2 separate regions of the Homo sapiens genome follow, and region 2 is linked to region 1. The links are contacts of gene promoters, found by promoter capture Hi-C in blood cells and fetal thymus (Javierre and others, 2016). All regions are on one chromosome and are shown on one strand. The core of a region is centred on a gene start or on the middle of the fragment in contact, and the rest is flanking DNA. Distances in the headings are between cores, read along the strand shown.

Region 1 (3,354 bases), core at 855-3,354:
TTAATACGCATGAAGAGATTTTTAAAAAGGGCATTCTTTAACGTATTTCAACTGGCAGCAGGTGATCAGAAAAAAATAAGATAAATAAAATATTGTTTAGCTATCAAAGAACAACTCTGCACTGTTAGATACTTAAGGTCCTGATTTGCACCTGAGTTTAGAAAGCTACCTCATACATATGCACTTAAAATGGAAATTTCTCATCAGATTCCACATCTAATGCAATGCAGAACCCAACTCTAGCTGTGCCCCATCTTTGCCCAGGGCAGAGCCAGTCTCAGCAACTTCCTTCACACTCAGCCCACCAAGATGTCAGTCCTCAGTGAAGCACTATTCCACATACGTACGTACATGATTATCAAATAAAGGGACTTCATACTCCAACTGCAGGAACGCAAAGAAACAAAACTAGATAAGTATGAAAGCTATAGAGTTTAGGAAAATCAAGGAAAAAAGTAATCACTGAAACTCATCTCTTGCAAAGAAAGTTACTTCAAAATTTGACGTAAATGGATTAAATTTCAGCATTTCGCTATACCGAAATTACACTATGGGAAGAAAAAACCCAAGAATACATCGGAGCCATTTATCTTCCATTTCCTGTATTTCCCTTAATTACCTACCCAAATGAATGCACGTAAGAGTTGTTAAAGTATTGAAATACGTCAGTCCTTTCTAATTACCTACCCAAATGAATGAGCGGAACAGTATGTTACAACTTTTAATTAAAATACGTCAGTTTCTTTTACAATTATCTTATTTCTGCATATCACAGAAAATATTCTAAGAACAGAGCAAAAATGAACAAGGACAATCCGCCCAGAAAACTGCTTTGAGGAATTTAGTAATCTCAGCCCTCTCAGGTTTAGCACGCCAACGTCTTTGGGAGAGCAAAGGCAAAGGAGATGATAAAATGACACTTCCAAATAGCAACAGCTGAGATCACTGCCGCATCCTAGATTCTTTCCACCAGGAGCGCGAGTATAGGGTTTTTTTCTAAACGCTCTTCCCAAGATCCCGAGGTCAATTTCAAACGCTGCTCCACGCTTAAGTCCCGAGGGAGGCTCGCTCGCCCACCCCACCCTGCAGGGATTGCACTTCCCGTTCGCTCTGGCCGGTCAGGAACCCTAACTTGACAGTGACAAACACTGAGAAAAGAGGAAGTGGCTAAAGATCATTTCATGACATTTTTTAAAGGGAGATCAATGGCCCTGTCTTTCCGGAAAACTTCCATGGGACGTTGCCATCACACCCTCTGAAAGTTTCAGCGAATGACAACGTAGCAAAAGTGAGGGCTACTCCCCTTTAAATATATATATATATATTAATCCTCGAAATCCTCTTGCTATCAAAATCGATCCCTCCTCCGTAACAGCGAACGCAAAACTAAGAGCGCCCATCCCGGTGGGGCCGATCTCGGAAGCCAGGCTCGGGGCCGGGTGCGCGCCGGGTCCTCCCTGCCAAGCTGCAGAGGAGGCGCCGGCACCGCGGCGGTCGCAGGACCTGGCAAGCGCCTACCTTACCTCCCTCACCTGGTTTGACTGGTTTGGGTGGCGGCTTCGACATCTCGCTTCCTGGAGCTGCAAATCCTAAAGACCCCGCCGAAAAGCCCACCGCTTGCCCGCCACCTGGCACTCCGGGCACCCCAGTTCTTTTTGTCTGGCTTACAACCGTGCGCCTCCTAGGACCGGCGCCCACCCTTGGCTGCGGGAAGAGCGGACGCAGGCAGAGCGGCTCCGCCGAGTGCTCCGCCCCGCCCCGCGGCCGCCGGAGCAGTCCAGAGCGCGCGCCGGGCCGACGAGGAAGTGGACCCCGCCTAGCCGAGCGCTAATTGGCTCCCGGGCTGGCAGCTTCGCCGCAGCAGGAGCGCGGGCGGCGCGCACGGCGGCGGAACCAGCCGGAGCCGAGCGAGGGCGAAGCGGGCGTGCGCCAGTGCAGTGCCGCGGGCCGCGCGCGCTCCCGATAGGGAAGGGCCGGAGCTGCGCAGGGGCGCGCGGAAGAGGCCAAGCTAGCCGGAGCCCCGCCCCGCCCCGCCCCGCCCCAACGGGGGCTGGAACCCGGCGCCGAGAGTAGAGAAAAGGGGCCTCTGGTGACCGCCCCTACCTGGCATCCCTCTAACCCAGGAGGAGCGTGGGGAAAGGGGCTGTGGGCCTCTCGGGGAGCGAGCTGCGGGTAGCGGCGCACTGGGTACAGGCGCGCGCTTGGCTGTCGCCTCTGCCGCTGTGTTTGGGAGGACTCGAACTGGCGCCAGGTGAGTGCGTACCTGCTCGCCCCTGCCGCGCCGCGCCGCCTTGCTGGGGCCTGGAGGTGTTTCCAGAGGGTTTCTGTGCTGGAGCCCGGGACTTGGTTGCGCCCTGAAAGCCTTGCCTGGACTCTTGCCACCCTCACAGAGCTGATAGGTGGCCTGCCGAGGAGGACGTGTACTCATGGTGGCGTGGTGCTCTAGCGCCCCGGAATAATCCTGAAAATGGGAACGCTGCCTCCAAGAGACCGCGCAGCCTGGAGAAGTCGCCAGGGACAGGATCAGGACTTGATCCTCGCGGATCGATATGGTCTCATTCCTCTAGCGTTGGGGTGATGACCTACTGCCCGCCTGCTGCCTGTTACTGTAAGGCCTGCTAAGAATTTTTTTTTTTTTTACTTTTTTTAATGACTGAAAAGAAATAAAAAGAAATATAATACTTTGTGACACGTGAAAATTACATGAAATTACGATTTCAGTGTCCGTAAAATTTTACTGGAACACGGTCACGCTCATTTGCATCTGTGTTTTCTGTGGCCGCTTTCGCATTACCCAGCAGGGTTGAGTAGCAGCTGGCAAAGCCCAAAGCATTTCCTGTCTGGCACTTTACAGAAAAAGTTTTCCTACCCCTGATCTATCGGATTGAATCTTCGGTGGGAGGAAAGAACTGGAGCACACAAGGAAGCCAATGGCATAAGTTCAAAATAACAGTCAATATTGTAAATTAATTGTATATTTGGGGAAAGAAAAAACTGTTTACCTAAGAACCTACATAAATGAAACCAATGGGGGAGGGGCATGAATTGCGTTTTCAAAAACCCCAGCCCTTCACGTCTGTAATCCCAGCACTTTGGGAGGGCAAGGCGGGTGGATCACGAGGTCAAGAGATCAAGACCATCTTGGCCAACCTGGTGAAACCCGATCTCTACTAAAACTGCAAAAAATTAGCCGGGCGTGGTGGCAGACGCCTGTAGTCCCAGCTACTCGGGAGGCTGGGGCAGGAGAATCACTTGAACCCAGAAGGCGGAGGTTGCAGTAAGCCGAGATTGCGCCACTGCACTCCAGCCTGGCAACAGAGCGAGACTCTGTCTTAAAAAAAAAAAAAAAACCCA
Region 2 (3,620 bases), core at 1,034-3,533, 4.7 Mb after region 1:
GGGTAGGAGAGATGTAAGAATGAAAGGTCAATGACAGACAGTGAAAAAGTAGACTGGAAGTCAAAATAGGGTCAAAGAATTGTTCAAATGTGGTTATTTGAGCAAATAAGCTGGGAGAGAAAGAAGTGTTGGTCAGGAAGGAGGATGATGGTCGGAGGTGGTGCTGTTATTTGGTGATGAAAAGATTGAAGATACCCATGTGACAGTGGGGTGGAGGAAAAAAATGATTGCTGTTCAGGTACCAGGGTTTCAGATAGGTCATTAATCTATTGGGATGCTAAATTCACCAAAAATGTTAATAGGAGTTGGGTGGAGGTGGGGGACTGTGAGTCAGGTGCTAGAATCTTCGGGGAATGAGGGGGAGTGCAGGAGAGCCTGCAGATGACAGCCACAAAGCGGAGGTGGTATAGTCTGATGGCAGGTACTTCAAAGCAGCTGGGGTGGAGGGGGAAGAAAGAAGAGTCTATCTTGGTGAATAATTCTCCTGCCAAGGGTTTGTTCTGAATTCCACTCTCTAGTATCTCACCAAGCTTCCTTCCCTCTTTTGGCAGCTGAGAGGCCATCCAGGGTAAGGATTTTTTCAGGGTCGTGGGGTCAGAAGGAAACCAGCAAACAGTCAGGACTTTTATTCCCTCTTCTCTGCTACCAAAATACCAAGGCAGTGTTTTGGGTATTTAAAAGAACATTTTAAATGTCCTTGTTTGTTTCTGCCTCTGTGCAACATTGTGCTGGGAAGGACAGGGAGCTGGTAACCATGGCAGTGGAGCAGAGGGTGGTGGTGAAGAGGTGGTTTTTAAATGGGGTGAACTTCAGGCAGGCGGCACCCAGAGCTGGAACCCCCACGGCCTCCTTGGAGTCCTTTGTTCATTCAGCTTACTTAGGGAGAGAGCCTGCATTCTTCCCCGCTGTGAAGCAAGCTTTGAAAGGAAAGGTTTTGCCAGACTCCATAAGGAGAGGGTGTGTCCCTAGGAGCAGGTTTTGGGGTTCTGCCTGAAAACCTTGGTCGGCAGAGAATTTTGGGCACCCTGTTACGAACAGGACAGTCTGTGATGGCAAAGAAGCCAGCTCTGCAGCATCCTGGATGCAGAGTTCTTACACACCGTTAGCTGTCTCACCACTTCTCCCTGGACAGGTGGCCACTCGTGGGGGTGGCCCAGAATCCTGGCCAAAAAAGACAGCCAGGCAGGGCCCCCACAGGAAGGTAGCTGGCAGGGGAGTCAGGAGGAGAGGAAGGGGGAGGGAAGCAGTCACCTCTTCCACGTTCCTGGATAGGGAGCCTTAAGACCCTTTTCAGGACAAATAAGTGCCCCCCAAAAAGCGGACACAGGGCAAGGCAGGACAGGACAGGGCAAACCTGGGGCACAGCTCGGGGCCAGGGAAGTCCCATGACTGCAGTGTTCAGCTGCAGGTTTCCCAGCTGCTCTGGGCGGGAAGCGGCGCCGGGAGATGGGGGCGGGGAGAAGGGAGGGGAAAAGAGGAGGAGGGAAGTAAACAGGAGACCACAGAGAGAGCCAGTTCCCGGCGTTCAGAGAACACTAGCCGCCTCCGGTCCCCGGTGGGTGGCTGTATGTGTGGAAATGAAACTGGGAGGAGGAGGGAGAGAGGGAAGAGCGGGCACGCACTTCTCGGCTGTCATCCACCTTGCCTCTTCCGACCCTCCAGCCCGCTCCCCACCGGGGTAGGGGGTTGGGGGAGGTGGGAGGAAAACAGTTCAGCAAACGCCCACCTCCAAGTACCAGTAGCTGGTTCAGCTGTCGGTGAATCAGACACTGTCTCAGCAGCTTGTCACCTGCGCTTGGGAGGGGAACAGAGGGCAACCTTGGAACTTGGGAGGGGGAGGTTGGGAAAGTGCAGGATCCAGCACTGGGCCTGGGCCTGGGCGTAGGGGTGACGCCTACGGCTCGGAAAAGGGCTATCCACCTCCCTACACCTACACACGTCTCGACCCAGTACCCGGACGCCGAGTAGAGGGGGTGGGACAAGAGCATGGGGGCCGTACAGAAGGGGGAACTGGAAGAAGGGGAGGGGAGAATGGGTTGGGGGTGTGCTGCGGCGGGAAGCGCTGGGTGCCGGGCGGGCGCGGCCGCGGGGAGAGCTGCTGCCCGGTGCCTGCCCGCGCGAGGTTATGCGAGGTAACCGAGCGGAGAGGAGGAGGGAGGCGGCGGGGGCCGCGGGCCGGGGTGTCTGGCACTCGTTGGACAAAGAGATGATGAAACGTGAGCGCTATATTTACCAAGGGGGTGGAGACGGGGCGGGGGGGGCGGAGAGTAAAAAGGACAAACTGTTCCACAACAACCACAGGAAACACAGCCCATTCTGACTCACTGGGAGGGCCACACCGAACCCCTCGCAGGCTTAGCCTGAAGGCAGACGCGGGGCGCAGGTGCTCCCGGGACCGGACCGAACCTGGGCTGGGGCTGGATTGATTTATAAATAAAGGCACATTCGATCCAAGAGTGCGTGTGTGCGTGCGTGTGGTTCTTGTGGGGTAGGGGAGAGCACGGAATGGCAGGAATGTTTCCTAACCCCTTGGCCGGGCCATCGCGGGAGAGATCTGCCGGCAAACTCTGGGAGCGCAATTCCTGCAAAGTCATCTCCTCCCGCACAGCCTGGCCGGCCTGCCCGCCACGCCCCGCCCGGGGACAGCAGCACCCGCCTCCCCCACTCCCTCCCCACCCCCGCAGCCCATGGAGTTGGGGTGCGGTGCTTGCTATGTTTAGAAGCTGATGTCATCTCGACACCCTACTCTGCAGTGTTCCTAGGAGGACCGCAGGGCAGGTTTTCCTCTTCCTCGCGGGCGTGGGGGATGGAAGGTGGCCAAGGTGCCCTGCCCTCTCCCCAACACAGGAACCCCACACCCATCTACCCGGGAGATTAAAAGAAAAAAAAATGCAACACCGCCAGAGTTATGAAACAGGGTGGCGGGGGCGGTACGTGCACGCGGAGAGCGCAAAGCAAGGGCCTGGGCCGCGCGGGGCTCCCCCCCGGTCCCCGCCCACTCCCACCCCCGCGCTCCCGGGTGCAGGGGCTAATTTCAAGGTTAGCTCACGTGGGCGTGGGCGCCCGGAGCTCCTTGCACGAGTTTGGGGCGGGTTCCTGGTCCCCCAATCTAGGGCAGTTTGTTCAACTGCAGTAAAGGGAGCTTGATGTTCCAGCAGGGAAGGGATTTCTGAGAACTGGGACTGTCCTCAGATGAACTCGCCTCCTCAGGCTGCTGCGGCGGCGGCCGCCTGCGGAAGACTTTTTAAAAGGGCGATGCCAGGCCGGGGCGCGCGGTCCACGAGTGGCTGAGTCGCCCGCCAGTCCGCGGCCGGAGCCGAGCGCCCGCCCCCGAGCGCGGGTGATTCACCGAGTGCCGCGCTGGGCCGGTCGGAGCGCGGGGGGCTGCGAGCTAAACTTATCCTCCTGCATATGCATGAACGGGCGGCCTTTCTGCGCTGCAGAGGAGAGGGCTGGAGTTTTGCGGAAGGCTGCTAAGTGGGGCGGGAGCAAAGTAGGGCGGCGTGCAAGTTTTCGCGCTTGCCTGAGCGCCCTTCCCCCTCCAGCCCCTGGGTGTTAGCTGTCATTATGGCCACGGGCGTTCCACCAGATCGGGCTTTACCTGATTGTATTTCAAAATC

What was found. The method cuts DNA at HindIII sites, captures the fragments that hold promoters and counts their contacts. A CHiCAGO score of 5 or more calls a contact.
Region 2: a contact is called between a fragment that was not itself captured here and the fragment with the promoter of NMRK1 in region 1, in 2 of 17 cell types (total B cells and total CD4 T cells). The highest score is 5.8, in total B cells.

What each region holds. Positions count from the first base shown.
Region 1 is chr9:75,086,905-75,090,258 of GRCh38, reverse strand. NMRK1 (nicotinamide riboside kinase 1) reads left to right here and starts at 2,104. Exons shown (of 9, transcript NM_017881.3): 1 at 2,104-2,251. It overlaps OSTF1 (osteoclast stimulating factor 1), which reads right to left and starts at 1,745. Exons shown (of 10, transcript NM_012383.5): 1 at 1,533-1,745. The coding sequence starts at 1,566. RefSeq lists silencers at 1,355-1,444, 1,635-2,234. The HindIII fragment of the contact is 4,153 bases long and covers 1-3,354 here.
Region 2 is chr9:70,418,793-70,422,412 of GRCh38, reverse strand. The region is part of intron 1 of KLF9-DT (KLF9 divergent transcript); the gene reads right to left. Among named protein-coding and RNA genes, the nearest start is that of KLF9, 5.9 kb to the right of the region's middle. RefSeq lists silencers at 1,970-2,059, 2,990-3,039, 3,140-3,449 and an enhancer at 2,887-3,608. The HindIII fragment of the contact is 2,727 bases long and covers 920-3,620 here.